Linked DNA regions of Homo sapiens: region 2 is linked to region 1. Evidence: promoter capture Hi-C in 16 types of primary human blood cells and fetal thymus (Javierre and others, 2016). All regions are on one chromosome and are shown on one strand. Each heading gives the region's core, a stretch centred on a gene start or on the middle of the fragment in contact. The rest is flanking DNA. Distances are from core to core; before and after follow the strand shown.

Region 1 (6,147 bases), core at 610-3,109:
CAAAGTGTGGTTTTCCAGCCCTTTTTCTTGCCTATTAACAAAAATAAAAACAAAAAATGGAAATGCCACTGGGCTTGAAACCCCATTTAAAATCAGATTTCTCTTTCGAGTTCCCTTGCAATACAAGTCAAAGTCATTTCCACCAAAAAAAAAAAGCGGTGGGGGGGGGGGGTGTGCAAATTAATCCTAAACTCATGGCTCAGATAGGACCTGGTATAGTAAATAAATGCTTTTAAAAGTAGTCATGGCATTGAGAAATGGCTCCATGCACCTAAACCAGAGGCACCAATGTAAAAACTAGTAATTGTGTTTTAACACAAAAGATTGAAAAGCGTTTTGTTTCACATCCTAATATTATTCCACCCACTTAAAAAGAGTTACTTAATATTGACTCTGTATTAGGTATAAGACAAGTTCTTGCCCTCAAAGAACTTATAATTTAGTTGAGAAACCAAAACTTAACATGAGCTTAAAAAGAAGGATGCAGTACAAAACATGGTATAATTAAGTGCTAAACAATGTAGTATAGATGCTCAGTGACCTAGGAGATCAGAGGAAGGGAAGGGTCACTGAGGGCTGGGAATGTCAAAAGCATGTACTTTCAGTAAGTTCTTAAAATGATAGCATGTTAGAAAGCTGTTATAATTGCTGCTGATTTGTAATTTTAAAGCATTGACATGATTCACCATTGCTTTCCAACCAGTAGCTGTTTAAAAGGACATACAGTTGAGGGTGAAAGGAGATATTTCTTTATGATCTCCAGAGATTTGTATTGAGGGGAAAAAAGACATACTTTCTTGTTGAATAATAGACCAAGAATTGAGCATATTTTGCATGGGGAATATTAAATTCAGTGAACAAGAATCCAAACCTCAGGCTGTGATTCTGGTATAAATTTTTGTTTCTAATGAACCATTTTCTTCCTTCTAAAGAAGATTTAAGTTTTGGGAATAAGTCACCTCAAAAAAATTTTTTTTTATTTTCTAATATCTATTTTCACAATTTATTTTTCTTTTAAGAAAAGTGGACTAGAAGCTCAAGTTACCTTCTCAAGGCAATGAGAATTTTTTAGCTCTAAAAAAGTTGTGTGTGGTAGGGAGAACATTTAGCATCCTTTAAAATGGAGACATCTGAACAGCAACCTATCTTTTGAATCACCAAATCTCAAGTGTACTTTGCACTCTTGGTCTTAAAATGCTTTTCATTTTCTAGTTTGGCAAAAATTCCAGTCTCTTTACATTTGCTACCTTTTCCGTCTTTGCAACACAGGCAGTGTGAGCTAAATTAGGTTTGTTAAAATGAAGTTTTGAAGTTTCAACTGCTGAAATAGAGGCATGTCCCTAACTTTAGACAAATTTAGAGAATCGTAGTAAGCATTATTTTTTTTCTACATACTTGTCTGCATTCAGTGTCTTCCCAAGAAACGTCAGTTAATTCCCCGATTCGAAAAAGGAACTTTCTCGTAACAGTTGTACAACCAGGCTAAAGAGCACACCCTCGTCTTCCCTGAAAGGGAGGAAACATGCAATAATGTGAGGTAATTAAATTTAGCCTTAGAAAAGTCTTTGAAACGTTCTAATCAAGACTTTCAGCTTTCCGATTGTGTGCGCTTTATTTTTCAATTCTTCCTAGTCCCGGTTTTGCATTTCTAATGACAGTGAACTGACAAAGCGTGAAAGTGGTCTAAGGAGCAAAACAAAGCCAGCAAGCCTGCTTCTGGTGTGCCAAGATTAATCAATATTCCAGAAACCTCGGGGTTTCCCCCTCCTCCCTGTGCGGTTTCCATTCCCCACTCCTCCTTTCCCGGGCACAGACTCCTCCCCTTTTCTTAAGTTGCCCTGATAGTAACTTGCAGTTTCAGAGCACATGCACACTGTCAGGGCTAGCCTGCCTGCTTACGCGCGCTGCGGATTGTTGCTCCGTTGTACCTGCTGGGGAATTCACCTCGTTACTGCTTGATATCTTCCACCCCTTACAAAATCAGAAAAGGTAAGTGTCACATTCTGTGTTCCTGCTGGGTTTAATTTCTCCTTTCACTTCTCTGCCGATGTATTTTGCCTTCCAAGCAGAGGAGTAGCCTGAATCAAGGCTAGCCATTTTGGTAGATAAAGTCCTTGTTAGTCATCTCACGTCGTGAGAGTGTGGTGTCTGTTTATGCCGGGTCCGCTGTTAATTCGGAGTTGAGTCATTCGGGGTGGATTGGGGGCAGATTGTGGCGCGAGATCTAGAAAAGGATCAAGGTTGAGCGGATCTGCTTAAAAGTGACTGGTAAGAGGAATCAGAGCTATTAGTTTAAAAAAAAAAAAAATCTGGTCTCTCCTATTTCCCGGTCTTCACTTCTCCCTAAGCATTTAATCCAGTGTGAAGTCTTAAACAAATTAGAAGTCTTAGTATCACTGACCCCAACTTGCAATTTTATTTAAAAGGCAAACTGTTAAGACAAGTCTTTTTTTTTCCTGCACTGGGATTGCGAGAAGTCATTTGCGAGGAGTCCTTTGGTTTCCAGTTACCTCCCCCACAGGCGCACACGCTGGCTGCTTGCGTTGGCAGCGACACACATCCATGGTACGGCTGGTTTTCACTCGGATTGATTATGGGAAGGGCTATGGATTAGAGCTCCTGTAAAGCACCAGGAGGAATCCCTTGATTTTTCAGAACAGCTGATTTCCACCAGGAAAGAGATTTACTGAAATGTAGTTAAATAGCGTGAGTGCTTTAAAGAAACCAGAAACCACAAGCTGTAATGTTTGGAATGAAAATTGGTTTCATCTCATCTGTTCTAGAAATCCTAAATTTTAAAACGCTAAAAAGTCAGCGATAGTTTCCTCGGAAGATTCCAGCATGTGTGTCACAAAGAAAAACACTACTTCATACTTCTACTTGTGATAAACGAAGCTGAATTGTGATTTCAGATGATTTATAGATGTGCCCAGAGCACTTTGCTTATTTCATGGAAAAAAAATGAAAAAATTACCCTGTAAAATAGTCACATGTATTTCCCATGTACTGTGGGCACTTGTGTTCTTTTTATGACCATATTTACTAGTAGATATTATTATATTTTTTTCTTAATGAAGAAAATAGCTGGTTACTTTACTGCATGTAACAGAGACAACTCCCACCTATCAGTATCTTAATTATTTTTATTGACCTGGTTATGCTTTCAACCATGTATACAGCATAATTTGTCAAGTAATGATTGAATACTTTCTGTGCATTCAGTTCAATTGGACATTTACTGATTGTGTACGTTGTGCAAGGCATCAGCTGGGTTCTGCGGGGGAGGGTGGGAATAGGGGTTCTCAGTCAGATCTAGCTCTGAAGAACCCTTTTATAGCCTCATTGGAAGGGGAAGGACGGATTTTTAAAAAGAAAATAGAATATATTCCGAATTTATGCACATTTCTCACACGTGGTCCACTAAAATATGCACACTGCAACCTTGAGGTCTGGTATTGTGGCTCTCCAGTCCTTGATTCCTGCTGAGATTATGCAATTTGCCAAGAGCTTGCCTGGTGTGGAGCAGCACTGATTTCTCACCCCTGGAGGCTATAACTCATGTCTCTTTTTCTCCCATTCTAGTTGTGTTTTCTAATACCAAAGAGGAGGTTTGGCTTTCTGTGGGTGATTCCCAGACACTGAAGTGCAAAGAAGAGACCCTCCTAGAAAAGTAAAATATGACTAAAAGCAATGGAGAAGAGCCCAAGATGGGGGGCAGGATGGAGAGATTCCAGCAGGGAGTCCGTAAACGCACACTTTTGGCCAAGAAGAAAGTGCAGAACATTACAAAGGAGGATGTTAAAAGTTACCTGTTTCGGAATGCTTTTGTGCTGCTCACAGTCACCGCTGTCATTGTGGGTGAGTCATTTGATTAAAAACAAAAAAACCTGTATCTTGTTTCTCTGGGGCATCTGGCTGCCCGGGGAATATTATCAGATGAACTAGTTGTAGGTATCAAAATGGTAGCCTAGGCTTTCCTCTGAACTTGATGATTTTTCTCCATAAAAATGACTGTTTTGGCTTGTTTGGAGCAATATATAGTAAACACATCATTAGGCATCATTAGGCATTATGCAAATCAATTGTGTGAGGAAGAAAAATAAATAAAATATTTTCCCATTTCATGTAAGGATAAGGAAGTGATCATTTAATCATTAGGCATGACAAAGCAAGCATGCTAGATTTGGCCAAAATGTAATTATATACAATGTCAGTTGCACTTAAAACTAATTTATACAATTAGTACACCTAAAATGACATGTTGGTTCCAAATAGTAATTATATTCTAACTGGTGCTGACTTGAAGCTGAGTATCAACGCTTAGGCACAGAGACCGAATATTTTATGTGTTTGCACTCTCTCACCCAGCAACTGGGAAAGGTAGATTGGGGAAAATGTTAACACAGATCTCTTTCATTCATTGCTTTGCAGAGCCTGCCATAACCAGCTATACCTTTTTTTGAATCATTTCCATCTCTTACTAATTTAGCAGGGTTGACAGCAATCTGTACTAATAAAATATTATTGTTTTGTTTTGTTTATTGATCTTAAAAGTTATAGTTTATTACTTATGGGTGGCATTGATCCTACTTTAAAATATAGCTGAAAAAACCTACTTATTTGGAATTTTTGACCAAACCAATACAGAAATCCTTAGATTGACAAACATATACGCCAATGCCAGGTTGTAAAAATATTCCAACTTAACCTACCAATTTGCCACCAAAAAAGAGGCATTCAGTACCGTTTTAATCTCTACTTTGGAGTTTGCCAAGATTTCCATCAACTTTAAAGAGGTAATGATTTAATAAAGATTAAGAAAATTCTGTAGTGTGTAAATATAACTTTTTTCAAGAAAATTGAATTCTTAAATTGTAGACAAATGAAGTATAGCAGGAGAGTTTGTCACAAGATTTTAGATACATCCCATTTTAACATCATTGTCTTCCATTAGTAATCACTGGTGATTAATGATGGTTCAATTAATTTAGAGATATTCAAAGAGAACATGTCCTAACTGACCCAGAGAAGTAATGGCTTTCCACAGTAGGTTTCCAGGCTTGAATATATTCCTGGGTGAAATATTTCAGTCCCACATCATTGTCCTGGAAGTCAATGCAAAATACAGTCTGCTTGCCTCATTTGTCACTCTGAATCAAAGTCATTGCCAAGCCAAGCAATAGCTGCATAATAATAATTGCAAACATTTATATAGTACTATTCCAGCTACTCTGTAGGAGTTTTGTTTATATTAGCTCACTTAATCCTCAAACAAGCCTATGAAGCGAGTGAGAAGGTATGATTACTATGATCTTCCTCATTTTGTAGATGAAACTGACTGTGGAGAGATCAAGCAATTTGCCCAAAGTGACAACACTAGTAAACTCTAGAGCTGGAAGTCAAATTCAGTCTAGCACCGGAGGCCATTCTCTTAACCACTCTATTCTTCCTCTGCTCTGCTGCTAGTTGACATCTTTTAAGAGATGCCAGGAAGAGAAATACCCTCATGAGTTGATGAAGGCCAGTTAGCTAGCAGTGCATTCACACAGCATTGTCATTTAACTGCATGATTTACCCGGTTACCTCAAAAGAAAACTTACAGTTCTCCTATAGACCATTAAGCCACTTCCTTCTCATTCATTTAACACATACTCATTTATAATTCATGATCCTATACGTATAATAAATAGAGCTCAGTAATACTGGAGTATATTTGAAAAAGATGGAGAAACACCATTCAAAATGGTGTTGTAAACACCAGAAGAGTGGAATTTCTAAGACAGAAATGTTTCCATTCAAGAATACAGGAATGGAAATTCATAAAACTTGAACATGGAAGACAGATTGATGGAGAAGGAAGTTCCTAAGTCATTAGTACAAAGCAATAACATCTCTAATAAAAAGAAGATAATGCCAGGATTTAAAAGTCTGTTTTTCTCTAGGAGTTCTGGGATCATCCCTAGTCTATTTTTCTCTAGGAGTTCTGGGATCATTCCTCACCCAGTGAGGGCTTTCCTAAGATTTGTGAGAATTGCAATAAGAGTTGGCTGAGCTAGGGTAGATAAGTTGGCCGGGTGCCCTCATGGTTGGCTTTACTAATGGAAACTGAGGAGGCAGAAGCAGCAAGAAGAAGGCACTAACAAAGAA
Region 2 (5,759 bases), core at 2,543-5,042, 340 kb before region 1:
CGAAATATTTTTAAAAACATTTTAAACTTGTGTTTCCTATAAAATCTCCTTTCAAATGGGAATCTTGGCAATTTATCCGTACAAGGTCAGAAAATTATTTTCCATGAATGGTTATAATAATGAAAGAATGCAAGAATGAAAGGACAACGCTTCTATTTTCTCATTAACTTACCCTACTGATGTTGCACCTAAAAAGTCCTGGTTAGTAGACAGCTGGACTGAAATTCTAGCCCTTGATAAATTTTCACTTAACAAATAGGAATTTCCCTCAGAAATCTGAAAGTAAAGAAATCCATCAAAAAGTTTATAAAGACTACCTTACTATAGGACCATCAGACAAGGAAACAATAGTTATAGTTAAATATATTGAAAGCTTACTATGTTTAAGTACTGCCTTAAGCATTTTATGTACGATCTCATTTACTCCTTACAACTCTAACACTTTGTAATTCTATTGTCCACATTTTACAGGTGAGTAAACTGACACAAAAAACTTAAATAATTTGCCCAGGTCACATACAGTGGCGATCTGTCTAATACCGGAATATCATAATATTCAGAAATCCCACCATGTTTTGTTTATTTTTGCCATTTTAGTCAAATTGGGTTAATTCTCATTTCTGGATTAGTAAAGCTCTTTTCAGGACTATTTAATCCTGGGAAACACCCTAAGAATGTCACCATCCTAGTCACCCAATGTGAGAGAAAACCCCACTCATCTATTTATCTTGAAATTTTCAACTAGTAACTTATCCAGTTACTTTGCCTTATGTACATATGTGTATGCACAATACCTGAATTAATATATAAATGTAAGAGTGAGGAAATTTAGAATTGGAAGGAACCCTATACATTATCTGATCTAGTATTTACAATTCCTTCCTCGACCAGGAATTTGCAAAGATGTTTCAGGGCGTTTGTGTCTTTTAAAGCCAGATGGGTTATGTTTCCACTTAAATTTTTATTTCAATCAATAAAAATAATTTTGAGTACTTTTTCTTTTTTAACAAGAGTTTGACAACTGACAAATATGTATCAAGAGAGCATGTGCCATGGTTGGCAAAGATCGAAGTACATGCTCATTACCTAGTCATTCAGATAATGTATCTCTCAGCCAAAATGGTAGTTTTCACTCCTATGTTGGTTAAAATAGTTATTTAGGCATATATTGTTTAATCTATACATAGTAAGTAACCATTGATTAATGATAGGATGAAAATAATTTATCTGATTTTGATATACAAGATAATAAGAAATATAAAGATAATGGTTCTACAAAATCCACCTAGAGATAGTTTTCACAAAATCTTTAAATTACATTCATTTGGTCAAAATTCTTACATAGGATCTTATATACAGTGTGTCTCTGGATCTTCAAAGATCAATAAATGGAAAATTTAATGATGGGCATTAAATTTTCTTTTTAATGATGGGCATATACAGTAGGGCTTTTCAATAACTGGAAATAAGGTTTATTCCCTAGACCTTATAATTTATTCAAAAATAAATATAAACAATAGCTTGAAATTTTCTCTTAAGCTTGGATCATTTAAGAAGAAAATGGAAGAAATATATTAATAAATTTTATTTTAAAATATGCAATGCAATATTTACAAAAATTCTGCCAAGAAAGAAATATTGATGTATTTTTGATGTCATAACATGTAATTAAAATCTTGCTCTATATTTATAGTGCATGCCATTTTAAAATCAAATGCAATATAACTTTTTAGAAATTAGTCAACATATTATACTTTCTATTACATAATTTAAAACAAGTTAAACACCATGCATCACTTCTTTTTTCTCTTTTCTTTTTTGAGACAGTCTGGCTCTGTCACCAGGCTGGTACCATCTCGGTTCACTGCAACCTCCACTTCCCGGGTTCAAGCTAGGACTACAGGCACATGCCACCATGCCCAGCTAATTTTTGTATTTTTTGTAAAGACAGTGTTTTACTATATTGCCTAGGCTTGTCTGGAACGTTTTAGCTCAAGAGATCCACTCATCTCGGCCTCCCGAAGTGCTAGGATTAAAAGAGTGAGCCACCACGCCTGGCCACTTCACTTCTTAAATAAAAGTAAGGAATTATGTAACATGGTGATAATTATTACATTATATTTAAGTGAAAACAATAATATACTTATCTAAAATTGAAGACATGTTTTACTTAAAAATTACTTATATAGCATGCATAAATGATGAAATGATTTTTTAAATTCATAATGGATCTCTCCAAATAATATCTTACAAAGTAAAGAGTTTAGGAATATAAAAATATTGGAAAGTGCTGATCAAGTTCAAGTCCCTTACTTTGCTGATATAAAAAGATGTTGAATGGGTGCTTTGTTTAGATAAACAAAGATAGCAGCAGAGGCAAGATTAGTACCAATCTGGTATTTTTTTACACTTCCGTGTTTCTGTCCTTATGTTCACTAAGGGAAAACAAAGCGAAACTATGTGACCAATCCTCAGTAGTTCAGCTGGAAACAAATGGCTAAGATGGAATAACTCTCAAATTCCAACCTACCTATCTTGAGTCCTATTCCTCCTGTGTCTGCTTCTGCTGGAAGACAGGTAGCACTACAGCAATTGAATATATCCCCAAACCCATATCTGCACGGCTTGTGTAAGTTACTGTCTGTTTAGAAAGGCCTACAAAGAGTGATTCAGACACTACATAGTTGGAAGTTAGAATTCTTATCTGTCTCTAGAGGCTTCCCAAACCCTCCCAACTACACTGTATAGGGAGTTCTCTGCTCCTGTTATACTGGAATTTGGCTCTGAAATGAACCTCTGGTATGACCTAAACTGGCAACGATACACTGTGATGTTGACCAGTTGGCGATGTAGAGAAAATCCCTGCCTCTTTTTTGACTACTGACTCTGGCCCCTGGCTCCCTCATTGCTGTCCCCATTCTCACACAGGGTCATTGCTCTGGCACAAGACCCCCAGATTTCCACTACCCAGTACTCAACTTTACAACTTTAGAGAGACCACAGATTTGTGAGACTACAACTCTCCAATGTCAGAGTACAACTTTGAAAAGTTTACCAAGGGCTTTATGCTATCTAGCCCAACAACAAAACAAAGCTCAGACAACTCCTATTTCTGGATATGGGGGCCCCAAACAACCTGCAAAAAGAAAGATGAGGGATTGAGGTCAGTTCCGTTATCCTGGGCTTTCTCACCTTATTATTTGTTTTTTCTTTAGTCTTGCAAGATTCCAGTGCCTTGTGTCCAAATGTTTTTCTTACTTTTGCACAACTTCGAGCTTGAGGTAGCTGCAAAATAGCAGGTCTAATAACATGTTTAGAATGTTTCACAGGACCTTAAAAGAATAGAATTAAAGGATAAATATATGTTTACTGAAATATTCCTTTACTCCCTATTTTTAATTAATATAATTCTTATTTTCTAAAGTCATGTTTAAATGAGGGACTAGCGTTAATTAATCCAAGTCAAAATAACCATTGAGTTCCCCAACATTCACACCCTGCCTAGCTTTTGCCCAATAACTATTCATTTTGATCATGAAACCTGGCTTACTTGCATTATTTCTTCATGTTTTGTCACTCTGACCTACCTCCATGCCCCCAACACACGCACACATATAGGGAGATGAAAATATAGGTGGTAAAATATACAATTTCTGAGGTTCTTGAAATAGAAGCTACATACCTTGTTCAGCACTCTTTATATCAACACTACTTTGCACAAGAGCTGATGTCATAAAAACATTGTTTTTCCTCACTGTAAGAAAAAATATTTAAATTTTTTTAAATACAGAAGAGTGTCAGATTCTACACTATTTGGGGCTTAACAATCCCATTCCGAACTCACCAGCAGATGTCGCAATTGGCACTAACAGAGTAGTAGGTAGTGCCCTCTGGAGCACTGGCTCTGCGAAAAATGGGATTGCCAGCCAGGCGCGGTGGCTCGCGCCTGTAATCCTAGCACTTTGGGAGGCCAAGGCGGGTGGATCACCTGAGGTCAGGAGTTCGAGACCAGCCTGGCCAACATGGCGAAACCCCGTCTCTACTAAAAATACAAAAAATAATGAGCCGGGCGTGGTGGCAGGTGCCTGTAATCCCAGCTACTCGGGAGGCTGAGGAAGGAGAATCTCTTGAACCCAGGAGGTGGAGGTTGCAGTGAGCTGAAATCGCACCACTGCACTCCAGCCTGTGTGACAGGAGCGAGACTCCATTTCAAAAAAAAAAAAAAAAAAAAAAAGATATTGCCGGATGCGTCCTGCTACATAGTTCTGTTTACTTTCAGATATCTAAGTGAAAATTAGGTGACTAGCAGAAAAGGCAGTCTTTTTTTTGAATCTTTAAATAGTGCACTGTCAGAAATTCTACAGACTACAAAATCTGAATTGGTAATGAACCCTCCGGCATTAATATATAGCTCTTATAGAATATTATAAAACTGTTAGCAAAGTCTGCCCACACTCCCTGACTTTTTAATGAGTATACCTGAAGAAAGAAGTAAAGATGACAAATCTGCTAAGTTATTTTTCTACAAACATGTTGGTGGGGTAAGACTGTGGTGGTGGCTCCGAGTATAGAATTTCTATACATTTCAAAGGGATCTCCTCTTCATTGCAAATTGCAGAAACAGCAACCTTTGGCATTTAATGAAAATGAGAAAAGAATAATTGCTTCTTCAAAGTATTCTTTAAGGTGTTATAAATGTTGGGGTAGAATCCCTTCTCTACTTCAGAGTTCAATTTAATGTTTTTTATGATCTTTATTATTGAACATCAACAAAAAAAGAGCCATATTTTTCTCCTGCTGAACACCACTAACATTCTGCACAACATAAAACAGAATGATAATCTTTCTTTTTGTGTGAGTGTCCAGTAAAAAATGAATTAAAGCACGTGCATAGATAACTTAAAGTCGTTCCTTTGTTTTATGTATAAATACAATAAAACAGAACACCTTTGCCTCTGGGATTAGGATCTCTATTTCTATGTCTCTCTCACTTTTTTTTTTTTTCTTTGAGATTGAGTCTCTCTCTGTCATCCAAGCTGGAGTGCAGTGGCATGACCTTGGCTCACTGCAACCTCTGCCTCCTGGGTTCAAGCGATTCTCTTGCCTCAGCGCCCCAAGTAGCTGGAACTACAGGCGTGCAACACCATGCCCGGCTAATTTTTGTATTTTTAGCAGAGACCAGGTTTCACCATGTTTGCCACGCTGGTTTCGAACTCCTGGCCTGCAGAGATCTGCCTGCCTTGGCCTCTCAAAGTGCTGATATTACAGGCATGAGCCAACACGCCCAGCCAGGATCTCTGTTTCTCTTAATGTCTGAGCTTGTCAGTCAGGTTAGAAGGACTAGAGACACTAAAAGGTGTCTCTTCTGCATCTGAAAGTTACTTGATATACTGTTGCTCAGTCATGCCTGCAATTATTAATAAGAATACAGATTTATTCATTGAAAAACTCTGTTGTTCAGGCCAGGCATGGTGGCTCACGACTGTAATCCCAGCACTTTGGGAGGCCGAGGTGGGCGGATCACGAGGTCAAGAGATCAAAACCATCCTGGCCGAAATGGTGAAACCCCATCTCTACTAAAAATACAAAAATTAGCTGGGCATGGGTGGTGTGCGCCTGTAGTCCCAGCTACTTGGAAGGCTGAGGCAGGAGAGTCACTTAAACCCGGGAGGCAGAGGTTGCAGTAAGCTGAGATCACGCCATTGCACTCTAGCCTGGGCGACAGAGCCAGACTCCGTCTCAAAAAAAAAAAAAAGAAA

The links. The method cuts DNA at HindIII sites, captures the fragments that hold promoters and counts their contacts. A CHiCAGO score of 5 or more calls a contact.
Region 2: a contact is called between a fragment that was not itself captured here and the fragment with the promoter of SLC1A3 in region 1, in 1 of 17 cell types (M0 macrophages). The highest score is 5.2, in M0 macrophages.

The regions. Positions count from the first base shown.
Region 1 is chr5:36,604,747-36,610,893 of GRCh38, forward strand. It overlaps SLC1A3 (solute carrier family 1 member 3), which reads left to right and starts at 1,860. Exons shown (of 10, transcript NM_004172.5): 1 at 1,860-1,989; 2 at 3,583-3,858. The coding sequence starts at 3,678. RefSeq lists an enhancer at 1,967-2,066. The HindIII fragment of the contact is 8,493 bases long and covers 1-6,147 here.
Region 2 is chr5:36,261,767-36,267,525 of GRCh38, forward strand. It overlaps RANBP3L (RAN binding protein 3 like), which reads right to left. Exons shown (of 14, transcript NM_145000.5): 5 at 3,683-3,754; 6 at 3,193-3,332; 7 at 173-276. All of the region lies in intron 1 of LOC124900962 (a long non-coding RNA gene), which reads left to right. Among named protein-coding and RNA genes, the nearest start is that of NADK2, 23 kb to the left of the region's middle. The HindIII fragment of the contact is 4,510 bases long and covers 1,538-5,759 here.